Regions from separate parts of the Homo sapiens genome. Here region 1 is linked to region 2. The links are contacts of gene promoters, found by promoter capture Hi-C in human tissues and cell types (Jung and others, 2019). All regions are on one chromosome and are shown on one strand. The core of a region is centred on a gene start or on the middle of the fragment in contact, and the rest is flanking DNA. Distances in the headings are between cores, read along the strand shown. Region 1 overlaps FMO1-AS1 (FMO1 antisense RNA 1). Region 2 holds the start of FMO4 (flavin containing dimethylaniline monoxygenase 4).

The links. Contacts are between HindIII fragments. The study calls those that stand out against the background at their distance.
Region 1: a fragment that was not itself captured here is called in contact with the fragment with the promoter of FMO4 in region 2 in 1 of the 25 tissues and cell types used here (H1 embryonic stem cells).

Annotation. Positions count from the first base shown.
Region 1 is chr1:171,166,174-171,172,628 of GRCh38, forward strand. FMO1-AS1 (FMO1 antisense RNA 1) reads right to left here. Exons shown (of 5, transcript XR_922278.4): 3 at 1,931-2,015. Among named protein-coding and RNA genes, the nearest start is that of FMO2, 16 kb to the right of the region's middle. The HindIII fragment of the contact is 5,651 bases long and covers 1-4,586 here.
Region 2 is chr1:171,312,010-171,318,487 of GRCh38, forward strand. FMO4 (flavin containing dimethylaniline monoxygenase 4) reads left to right here and starts at 2,174. Exons shown (of 10, transcript NM_002022.3): 1 at 2,174-2,404; 2 at 4,177-4,318. The HindIII fragment of the contact is 8,197 bases long and covers 1-6,478 here.

The DNA of each region.
Region 1 (6,455 bases), core at 511-3,010, 150 kb before region 2:
AATTAGATTAAAAAATGAAGCCACAAGGAAATGATAGCTGAAATTTAAGCCACAAGGAAATGATAGCTGAAATTTCTATGCATATCTTTAAAATTTACATCTTACATTGAACTGCAGTGATCTAGGTGCCTTCAACTGCCCTGTCCTTAGATTTAATAAGGTGTAGATAGCTTCACAGATTACCTTTTCTTATAATAAAAGAAGTATAACCAGAGCCTTTATGACTACATTTGTTAATTTCTCCTCTCTGAAATAAGACAATGTAATCTTCAGGTATTTGGTTTACTAATATATCACAGATTCATCACCACCCCACCCAACTAATCATCAAATGAGTTTCGCAGCTAAGAACTGACTCATATTCTATACCTGCCTTCTTAATGTATTAAGAAAATCCTTAAGCTCCATTAGGCTTTGGCCAATATGAGACATCCAAATCCAGATACTTTTGAGACTAGACTGAAAAAATAAGTGAGTAAAGCAGATAGATTGCATATTAATCATTCTGTTGGCACATTAAACAAAGAGAAATCATCCTTTACTTCCGCAAAAATATTTGCAGGCCCAGGACAACCAGATTTTCTAAACTTTTTAGAGAAGCCTTGTATTGATATTTCCATCTGTTATTTTCTGGATTTTTAATGTTTAGCAACAACTTTTAAAAAAAGATTTGTAGGTCTTAGATGGGCTGGAGAAAACTCAGTAAGGGCAGATTTCAGCCGAAGAACCTCCACTTCTCCTTACCTTCTCTGGAAACAATATGTATTGCCATCTTCCAGCCACCATTCTCAGGGTTCAGAGGGAGTTTAAAGATCTCCTAATTTAACCCTTGGTTGATACTTGTGTTCTTTCTACAATATCCAGCCTCCTCTTTAACACCTCTTTGGACACAAAATTCATTCATTACCCTCTGGAGCAGCCTTCAGATAACTGACTGCCTCTGGCATTTACCCAGTACAGCCACCATTCATTCACAGTGGCGAACACCAGCCCTGTGAGATAGAAAGAGGTTCAAATGGGGGAGTCACAGCTACCTGCTCAAAAACTCAAAGCAAAACACTGAACTGATTCCAAACAGGAGTCTTCATAACTTATTAGAATATTTAAAAAGGAATAATTATTTGTAGGAATCTGTTATATGGATATTTTTGCATTAAAGCACAAAGATGGATGAACAAGGAAAATCATTGCAGTCTCGTTTATAATCATGAAAACCTGGAAACAATTCAAATATCTATAATAGTATAAAATAACATACAGTAAAATATAGGAGATCAACGTATATATACTGACATGGAACTCTTTTCAAAATATATTGTTTAATGAAAAAAGCAAGTAACAAAGTAAACAATATTTCTTCATTTATGTAAAGTCTAGTATCTGTGTATATAAATGTTATTTTTACACAGAAGGAAATGTCTGAAAGCCAATTGTCATCAGTAGTTTTCTCTGAAGATTAGACTGGGGCTGGAAATGGGAGGAAGGAGTAGGAACCGCACTTTTGTTTCTACATACTTTCGCATTGTTTGAGTTTTTTCATTGAAGACATTTTCATACATGACTAGTTTTATATGTAAGAAAATAATTTTTTAAATAGGTACCATTTAGTCTAGAAAGCACCTACAAGATGCCTGATTGGTGAACCTTGTGAAGACAAGAGAAAAATGAAAGATTTTGTGTATGAATTTTAGTCTCAACTGCAAAATATTTTTCTGCTTTCTCAATGACACTACTTGGTCCTGTGTGTCATGTTACCACTCCCTGTGTTCAGATGACTGTGTTTGTGCATTATATAACAATATTAATTGTGCTATTGCCAGAGAGGGCTGTGACTAATGAGGTATATACTAATTAGAATGCACTTTACCAGAATACACAGTTGTGGATAAGCCAACAAAAGGTTGAGCGCAGGTTGTGAACTTCTCCTTACCTTTCCTGAAAACAACATGAATTGTCATCTTCCAGTCACCATTCTCAAAGTTCAAAGGGAGTTCAAAGATCTCAGCCGCTTTGCCCTGTACATGAGAAAGGGAAGAATAATGGAATCGCAAAAGTCCCCAGGTAATGCATGTAATTTTTTCATAATGCATCACCCAGATCAATGCTGAGATCTGGAAAGAGAGGACCATAGGTTGTGATAATGTCCTGCCACTTCCCCATCTATCCTCAACTCTGCTGCAAGTCTGGCCATAGCACGCCCTGCTCAAAATCCTTCAAAGGCTTCTCATCACCTTTTGGATAATGCCCAAGCTCAAGAGCAAATGAGGCCCTCTACCATCTGGCTCTACTCTTTCTCATTTTTACCTCTTCCTTGCTCCCTCTTAATACTCTGGTAGTATTGGACTGGTGATATTTCCTAAACTCATACCATAATGATCCTCACCTCTTTGCTCCAATTCCTGCTGTTCCCCTGGTCACAGATACCTTCCATCACCCCACACACATCTCTACCACCATAGCCTTGGGCAACTCCTGCTCTTTGTTATTTATCTTTATTCTTTCTGCACAGTGGCTTTTCCTGGGGACCATTGTCTTCATTCCTCTTTGCCCATACCTATCCTTACATATACATGTTGAAATGATTACTACAGTCAAGGCAATTAATATATCCATCATCTCACCCTTCCCTAATTGGTGTGTGTGTGTATGGTAAGAGCACCAAAAATCTACTCTCTTAGCAAATTTCTAGTATACAATACAATGATATCCGCAAGAGGCAGGCAAATGCCTAGGCAGACAGGGGCAGGTCCCTGGTGAAACCCCACCTTCAAGCCAAAGACAGTTTAAAGCCTGAAAGCCAAGCTACAAGTCAAATCCACAGACTGGATTGAGAACCTCTCTTCCCATTTGGTGCACTTTCCTCTGAATGATCCCTACCCTTCACCTATTTTATATATACCTACCCTTCCCTAATTGGTTTTTTACACTGCCATGCCCACTGAGTTGTGCCTTTGTTTTAACCTTTTCTGCGTACTCACAAACCAATCACCACTCCCCCATTCTGAGCCCATAAAAGCCCCGGACCCAGCCACACTGAAGGGGAGACCACCCAACTTCATGTGGTGGATCACCCTCATGGCCCCTCTTTGCTGAGAGCTGTTCTGTCACTTAATAAAGCTCTTCTCTGCCCTTCTCACCCTTCAATTGTCAGTGTAACCTCACTTCTCTTGGATTCAGGACAAGAACACAAGAATTGCTGAACATAGGTATGAGCTGTAACACAGGTGGGCTGGGGCACTCCTGGGCCAGTCATGGGGTGAGCTAGTGTGCAAATGGGCAGAGTACCTCCTGCAGCAGGCCTGGGGCTGAGCAAGGCCCAGTTTGGGGCATCGCCAGCCAGACACTTCCAGCTGGCAAAAGTGACAGAATAATCCTGTATCAGCAACACTATTAACTATAGTCCACATGCTGCATATCAGACCTCTAGATTTATTCATCTGACAAAACTGCAACTTTGTTTCTTTTTATCTACATCTCCTGATCTCCCCCTACCTCTGGTAACCACCTTTCTACTCTGTTTATGTGTATTCAGCATTTTTAAGATGCTGCATATAAGAAAGATGTGGAATACTTTTTTTTTCCTGTGGCTTATTTCACTTAGCGTAATGTCCTCTAGGATCATCATGTTGCAAATGGCAGGATCTCCTTCCTTTCTAAGGCTGAATAATATTCGTGTGTGTGTGTGTGTGTGTGTGTGTGTGTGTGTGTGTGTGTGTGTGTGTAGAAACCAGCCCTTTCAAAAGATTCCATGCCTGATTTCAACCAACTGCCTGACTGATAAGAGATCACTGATGACCACGGAGTGGTTCTGGCCAGTCTGCAGAGAATGCACAGTGAGGATTTTGTGTCCTCTGCTTCACCTTTTGACATCAGAGGGCCAAAAACACCACCCTTGGGTCATGCTAATCCTGCCATTTTTTGAACATGGGTCCCGTGAAGGAAGATGAAGCTCAGATGTGCACATAAATGTTTCTCATTTCATAAATACTCATGATTCCTCCTATAGCATATTGAATTTGCATATTTAGCCACCCTGCTCAACATAAATTCATGTTCCCTTTGCCCCACCTCCACACCCCTCCCCCCCAAAAGTGCCTGCTTCCAGCTTCTGGCCAGAGGCCATGCTTCCCAGCTCATCAGAAGGGCCACCCTTCAGGCTATAATCATTTATGAGAAATAAAGCTCTCCTTCACAAATTTATGAACCTTGTCATTCTTCAACTGACACTAGTATATCATGATCCACCAAGCTTAAAATCTTACAAATAACCTTTATTGTCTCTGTCTCCTTAGCTATTTGTAGTTATTAGGTCACCAAGATCTGAAAATAGACACATCTATGGGAATAGAAGAGGCAAGGTCAAACCACAAGATATCTATAGTCTTCCTGAATTCATCCCTATGTGAGCATGTACGCACACGCACTCGTGGACATGCACATGAACGTACACACACACTCAGATTTGAACATGAAATACATTGGGCTTAAAGTAAATAAGTTACTCCTGTTGACAACCTGTTCTTGTTCCCACTTTAAAGTAAGACTCGGCTATTCCCTAAAAGTACATCCAATTCTATGAAATTTTAGCAAATCATTCCAATTTTTCTATAGGAAGACAAAAGAATACACCTGACAACAAAAACATTAATAAAAAATCCTCATTAGATCTCTGTTTCCTCTCAAGGTTCTTCTCAGATGACTTGTCACCCCCACCCTTTTATCAACCCTTCCTCCCCAGAGCTTCTCCATCCTTGATTCCAAACTAACTGCCTATTCAGAGCAAAGTCAAAGAATTATTTTATGGCCTATTTCAGGGAAGAAAGACAGCAAGAAAGTCAAGGAGTACTTTCTGCTTGTGCTGTTTTCTCAAATGCCAAGCTGTCATATTTTGAAACAATGTATCCTCAATCCCATCACCACCAAGCTTCCACTGTTTTCTCATTAGAACAATTCAGTTATCTCTGGCTTTTCCAACTCAGTACCCTAACATCTGTTATCTCAGTTAACAAAGGATTATCCTTTGAAAATATCTGGGAATAGTCCACACAACTACTTTTCCTCATGTGTCATAATTGTTTGTCCTGTGACAGGTACATCCAGTACAGGCTTGAAAGGTAAAAGAAGCCATAAAGAAGCATCTGCAATCAGAAAGAGGTTGTAGAAAAGAAGAAAAAGTCAGTTATTTTGCTTTCTCTACAGTTAGAGCCAAGAAAACTATATTTAGAAAACTGGATTTTATTCTAAAATTTGGAGATTTTTCCCACATCTCTTCTCTGGATAGATTATAATTCTATACCCCTATCTCAAAACTTTTAACATATGCAGAATAACAGGTATTTGCATTCCTCTTAAATATCTGGTTGTGACAAAGCTTGTTGTTGATCAGACTCCGTTTCGCTCATACATATTATAATGGTTTTGTTTTATAAATGTGTTACACACAACAAAAATGTGATTGCTTCAAAATATTTATAAAATATTGAGGAAATTCAGGATGTACCACCCCAGTATAACTGTAGGAGACCAGACTATGCCACCTTAAGAATGCCTCTTTGGCACAAAAATTATTTAAAGTTGATTATTTTGAGAAACAGCAGACACAAGAGAAGCTTTGAAAACAGAAGTTATTCTTTTGTAAGGAAAATTTATATCTATAAAGGAAATCTTCATTTGTAAGGGTATCTCCCTCTCTGTACCAGGAAGAGAAGGATTACTTAATCATTAGAAATTCTTATCAGTGGAAAAGTCATCAGCAAAAATCTGCATAATAAACCTTGTTCTTGTTTAACAGGCCTTTCTTGGCATAATTTTTTTCTTGTCATAACTGAGTCTCTCTCACATACTTCTTTGTATCAGGGAACCATGGTATTTAAGCTCGAAGTCAAAGCCACCTGTTTCAGATCTACTCCAGAGAACTCATTTTTCCCTGAAAATGTATAGATAAGATATACATGTAATTAAACTTCTGTTTTTCTCTTATTAATCTTTTATTACAAAGGTCTGTCCCAACTAAGAACTCATGCAGGGTAGAGAGAAAATCGTGTTTCTTCACCTACAGCTCATTAAATGACTCAAAACAATGTTTAAATAGGAAACCAATGGGGTGTTTAAGCAGGGAAGTAGCAAAAATTGATTTAACAGTATAGGAAAATACTTTTACCTTCAAGGCAGAGAATTTATTATAAATGGGAAAGACTACAAACAAGAACACCAGTTGAAAAGCCACTGCAACAATCTAGGCCTGATTTCAATAATTCAGAACTTATGACAATTTTGACAAGAACATGGCTGAAGTGTCCCTTTATTTTATCTATAAAAGGGATATTTCATGAACACTTAGCACTATAAACAAAATTGTAAGAGAAAGCTTAAACTATTATACAACACAAAATATTTTAAATACCGTGGAAGCAATCACATTCCCACAATTAATGTACTAGTTATAAACTATTACG
Region 2 (6,478 bases), core at 924-3,423:
TTCTGAAATCAGACAATGCCTTTCAAATTCTTATACCATTCTCTGGAGTTGGGCAACATGGCTTCTCCCCTTTCTAGGTCTCATGACAACCATCTTGCTATTACTTGCCTTCGGGCCCTGTATTTTTAAGCTCTTTGTCAATTTGTTTCCTCCAGGATCGAGGCCATCAAGCTACAGATGGTTTTGCAAATTAAACCCCAAATGAGCTCAACTAACAACTTCTACCAAGGACCCCCTGGATCGACCCACTGGCCCTTTGATACCTAGAGAGTTTCCCTCTGGAGGATACTACAATTCAGGGTCTCTTCTTCACCCCTATCCAGCAGGAAGTAGCTAGAGCAGTCATTGCGCAATTCTCAAAAGCAGTTGGGGTGTCCTGTTTAAAGGGGGTATTGAGAGGTGAAGCCAGCTGGACTTCCTGGGTCGAGTAGAGACTTGGAGAACTTTTCTGTCTTACAAGAGGATTGTAAAATGCACCAATCAGTGCTCTGTAGCTAGCAAGAAGTTTGTAAAATGCACCAATCAGTTCTCTGTAAAATGGACCAATCAGTGCTCTGTAAAATGGACCAATCAGCGCTCTGTAAAATGGATCAATCAGCAGGATTCTAAAAGTAACCAATCGTGGGGAGAATTGAGAAAAGGGCATTCTGATAAGACAGAAACAGGACATGGGAGGGGACAAATAAGAGAAAGCTGGCCACCCCAGCCAGCGGCAGCAACTGGCTCGGGTCCCCTTCCACTCTGTGGAAGCTTTGTTCTTTCGCTCTTCACAATAAATCTTGCTGCTGCTCACTCTTTGGGTCTGTGCCATCTTTTAAGAACTGTAACACTCACCACAAAGGTCCGCAGCTCCATTCTTGAAGTCAGGGAGACCAGGAACCCACCGGAAGGAACTAACTCTGGACACAATATTTTTTTTTCTTTTTTTAAATTTTTTTCTTTATTTCTTCTAAAAAAAAGTGGGATGCATGTGCAGAACGTGCAGGTTTGTTGCATAGGTACACGTGTGCCATGGTGATTTGCTGCACCTATTGACCTGTTCTCCTCTAAGTTCCCTCTCCTCACCCCCTACCCTACAACAGGCCCTACAACATTCCCCTCTCTGTGTCCATGTGTTCTCATTGTTCAACTCCCACTTATGAGTGAGAACATGCAGTGTTTGGTTTTCTGTTCCTGTGTTAGTTTGCTGAGGATGATGGCTTCCAGCTTCATCCATGTCCCTGCAAAGGACATGATCTTATTTCTTTTTATGGCTGCATAATATTCCATGATATTTTTCAAAAGAAAATATTTGCTGCCAACAGAAGATTTTATATTAAAATCTGTATTTGCAGCTTTTACTGAAAAGAACCTAAGGCCTTGCCATATTGGGCTCATTTTCTCAAATAGCAACATTTAGCTGAACTGAATAGACAGAGAAAGTACTTTCCAGTCAGATCATATCTGGCCCACTTTCCTCGTGTATGTTACCCTCCTCACTCCTGTAGGCATTTGCATGTGTAGTCACAAGCAAATGTGGTTTAGAAATTGTTCAGTGAACCATGTTGGAAAATGTCCCTAAACACAAGTCCTAAAGATGGTCTGTTATATTATCTTACAAGCACACAGTGGAAGGAAAAACAGTTAAGTTTTCTATTTCTGCCACAGCTTCTATAATTATTACCTTTCTTGTGCCCTAGGTTAATATCTAAAAATAGCTTTATGCTTTCTCAAACACATTTCACCAGCTCCCTCTGCTGATCCAATCTGAAGGACAAAACAGCTTAAATTCCTTGTAAGTCCTGAACTTTAAAATCACATTTCTGGGGTTGGAGAACTCCAAGCATGAAAGAACTTGATGAGGTAATGGTCATCTAAATAACTTTCTCCTTTGGACAGCTCCTATGGTAATCCAAGCAAGAGTCAGGGTGTAGAAGTTTGTTTCCAAAAGTAGAACTCCTGTTTCGCTGAGAAAGCTGTAATTTGGGGTGATTTGGCGCCCTCTACAGACTATAATGGCAAAAGCGACGCTATCATGTGCTTCCCATAGCTTTAGGGCTTTGCCAGAACTATGACGTTGAGGAGGGTGGGGTAAAGGGGCAGGAAGCGTTTATGTTCTGCCAATCCAACAGCTGTATTCTAACTCACCATTCCGCCCTCCCTTAAGATCACGGAAGTATCACGCTTGCCTCTTACACAACTTTTTTTCCTTAGTCTGTATACTTTCTGCTGTCACTAGCATAACAGAAAAGACGAATGGCTTTTGTTTTAAACTGAGGGCACTTTTACAAAAGTCATCTTTCCATTTATTTTTCTTTCAGAAAAAAGAATTTGGGTTTTGAGCTTTTTTAAAAAAAAAAGACAAACACTTTCCTTGACTTTGAGAAATAATTTAAGTCAAAGAATCTGCTCTATGCTAACCAAGGTAAGTGTCCTGGATTTTTTTTTTAATGGGGAAATGATCCAGAAACTGCTTTCACAAAAGATGAATGTTTTTCTTGGAGTGTGTTCCTTAAGAATGAATGTGATTATCTTCTTTTGGGGTCTCTTGACTAGGGCTAAAGCAAGAGAATTAAGGAGAGAGTCAGGAAGCAAAGGGAAGTTGTAAGGAAACAAAGTTATGTTGTGGACAGAACCATCCAAAAGGAAAGTGTCAGTGAGATAAACAGAATCATGAGACTTTCAGTGACTCCAGTGACCTCTGATTTCATCTTATGAATGAGATGGAAATGCCAGCCATTGGGAAACAAATACCCCATAGATGGCGTGGGAAAAAAATACTGTAACAAAGCAAGAGCATGGTAGGATGATGATAAGAAACATAAAATGATCAAATTTCAAATTCAAAGAAATCATAATTGATTACATGATTTGCAAATCACCCAAGTCTCTCCATGTCTCATAAAGGATTCCTACATTTGCTGGTCAGTCAGGTATAGGGTGGGGTTTTCCCGTTGTACAAAGGTCTAGTTCAATAGGTCAGGTCTCCTTTCTGCCAAGGGACTAAATATAAGCAACCTATGGCTGGCACGGTGGCTCACGCCTGTAATCCCAGCACTTTGGAAAGCCGAGGAGGGCAGACCACTTGAGATCAGGAGTTTGAGACCAGCCTGACCAACATGGTGAAACCCCGTCTCTACTAAAAATACAAAAATTATCCAGGCGTGGTGCCGCCTGCCTGTAGTCTCAGCTACTCAGGAGGCTGAGGCAGGAGAATCACTTGAACCCAGGAGGTGGAGGTTGCAGTGAGCCGAAATTGTGCCACTGCATTCCAGCCTGGAAGACAGAGTGAGACTCCAACTCAAATAAATAAATAAATAAATATAAGCACCTTTGAGCAACCAAGTACCTTATGAAGTCCACTTTATAGTTTGCAGAGTTTGCACACACGTTCTCCCAATCCTTCAAGCCTGCAGTATTCTCGCCTACCTTTGAATTCATATCTTTTTTTTTTTGTGCACCAATTACTTGGTTTTCAGACATAAGAACAGTCCTTTCAAGCTTGAAGGAAACAAAGAGAAAGCCACTTGAACCCTCTGTTTTACAAATGTGGAAGCACTGGCTCAGAGAAATTGAGAATTGTGTCCAGGGTTACAAGCTGCTTAGAGGCAGAAGCAGAACTAGAACTCAGATCTCTCAATTTCCAGTTCACTCACTACCTTCCTCTACTGACTCAAGGCAAAATTTAAAAAGGTTGCTCCCATTCAGAAATTTATAGTCTGTAAATACGGATTAATTTTAAAAGGTGCTAATTCCCAATTTGTTTCTACTGCCTGTAGAGTCTCTAAGTCAGTCCTTAAAGTGCTTTTGCCCAGCACGTTTTTAACCCCACAGGCCACTCTGTGTCACTAACTAGGTCTCTAGACAGGGATAATAAACAGGCCAGGAGAGTGCAAGCATTCATGCCTAGAGCATGCTGCTACCATAGGACTTAGCACAAGGTAGTATCAGCCTCTCCATATACAACATCTTAAGAGCAGTCACGGTCTTTTTTAAATTCTAAGACTTTACTACTATTTCTTAGTTGCAGGGTCTTCATTATCTTCAGGGCCCCATACTTAGCTTAGGACCTGCACTTAGAGGTACCCAGGGCATATTTGTTGAATGAATTAATTTGCTTCCAGTCTATTCACGTCAGTATATTTTTCACTTTGGCAATTCAGTTAGCAGTCATTTCTTTTTACCTTATGATTGCAGAGATAGAGCACAGCAAAGATCTGCCAGCCCCAGGCCTCTACCTAGTGGCCTGGAAATTCAAGTATTCTTATTGGTGGAGGCCATTTGTTTCTGATTAGAAGCTGTCTAAACCTCCTACTCCTCAACTCAAAGGAAAACACAGGTATGTCTGCCTACTCCTTTCCAAACTTGTTGATACATTTTATCTGTATGAACTGTCTTTTCCAAGGAGAAGAGAAGGAAGACAGGAGACAAGTAGGGAGGTAGAGAATGAACACTGAGTAAATATTTTGTGCAAGGCACTTTTTTGTGTAAGTAATATCAAGTTTTTTAAAATGCAAACAATCCTTCAACATAGATATTTTTATTATTTTACAAATAATATATCTAAGGTTGCTTCAGTCGGTTGCTCAGGGTCATATGGCTAGTTGGTAGCAGAGAAAGTTCAAACCCAACTCTGCTGCCTCCAAAATCCATTTTCATTGCATTCCATATAGCTCTCTCAACTAAATAGGGACTCCCAAATAAAAAGTCTAAGAGGAAAAATGATGCATTTTTTAATACATAATGAAGCCAGGTATGGCAATCTCAGCCTTACAAAGGCAAGGCAGCAAATACATTCAGAAATTGGCAGCCCTAGGAAATCCTTCTGATCCTCATTGCAAGTTCATGAATCTGCCTTAGGGTCAGGTAAGTCTAAGGGTTCCTGGAGGACTCAGGAGTCTTTCTTTACTCCCTCCAGTCAGTAAATTCTCTTAGATTTTGTGCCTGGGGCTTCTGATCTGATTAAGAGACAAGCTACAGAGCCATAGAGAAAAACTCCAAGCCCATCCCAAAGGTGCAGCAGCAAACCTGAGCAAAGATGAAGGAAGAGGCTTAGTGACGGGAACCACAGGATACCTCAGGCTCTCAGACCAACAGCATGTTCACATCTTGGTTTCAGATCCTGAAATCCATACTCAGTGCAAACTCTGCCTCTTAATAGCAGTGTAGTCTTAAGTTGTTTCAAATGATTATGCTGATTTCCCATTTACTGGTCCTAATAGCTCAAAAAATATATGCTCTCTTGTTTCCCCAAGGCAAATACCACTGTGATAAGTGACATGAGACTACAAAAATCACACAGGGGTTATACAGCTTGATCTTTCCTCAAAAAATGCTGTATCTTCAAAGGCAAAGTGAAATGAGTTATATATATTTCATAAAACAATGGAATACTTTGAGGTCTCAACTATCATTTGTGTGTCTTCTGAATTGGCCAAGTGGGTTGCAGGGAAATGCAGGGAAAAGCAGCACTTGCAACTAAGTCTACATGACATATTAAGGGCCTCAGTGTGACATAAACTTGATTTACTAGAATTAACTCAGCCCATTTGATTGAGGCAAAAGCAATGTGATATGTGCAGAAATGATAAAATCCAGAAAAACTGGTAAAAACTGGTCCTATATCTCCATGTGTGTGTATGTGTATACTTCCTCCAGTTCCCGCTGACAAGCATGAGCATCCCCATTTCTAGCTGACATCATCGTGGGCTCTAGAATATCCCTTATGACGTTCCTTGGGGACTTTATTTTCTATTATGGTCAGTCTTGCCTCTGCAAGCTAAGAACCTCCCCTCAACCCATGTAATATCCTTGTTTTATGGCAAGGCATGACCGTGACCAGCTATTCTTTAGGACTCTAAATGCTTTGAATCAAAACCAACATTTCTACTGACTGAAATTCCTAGGATTCAGAGGCAAAGTGATAGCAAAGAGCCCCTTTAATACTGACAAATTCTAGCATCCCAACGGGGTCAAGGTACTGTCTACACTCTCTAATAGTAATACCACAGATTGAGTACTCCTTATCCAAAATACTTGGGACCAGGCCGGGCACGGTGGCTTACGTCTGTAATCCCAGCACTTTGGGAGGCTGAGGCCAGCAGATCACTTGAGGTCAGGAGTTTGAGACCAGCCTGGCCAACATGGTGAAACCCCATGTCTACTAAAAAATACAAAAATTAGCTGGGCGTGGTGACAGGCACCTGTAATCCCAGCTACTTGGGAGGCTGAGGCATAAGAATCACTTGAACCTAGGAAGTGGAGGTTGCAGTGAGCTGAGATTGTGCCACTGCACTCCAGCCTGGGTGACAGAGCAAGACTGTCTCAAAATAATAATAATAATAATAATAATAATAGTTGGGATGAGAAATGTTTCACTAGGATGAACATGGTGGCTCACTCCTGTAATACTAGCACTTTGGGAGGCCAAGGCAGGAGGATCACCTGAGCCCAGGAGTTCAAGAACAGCCTGGGCAATATGGTGAGACCCCATTTCTAT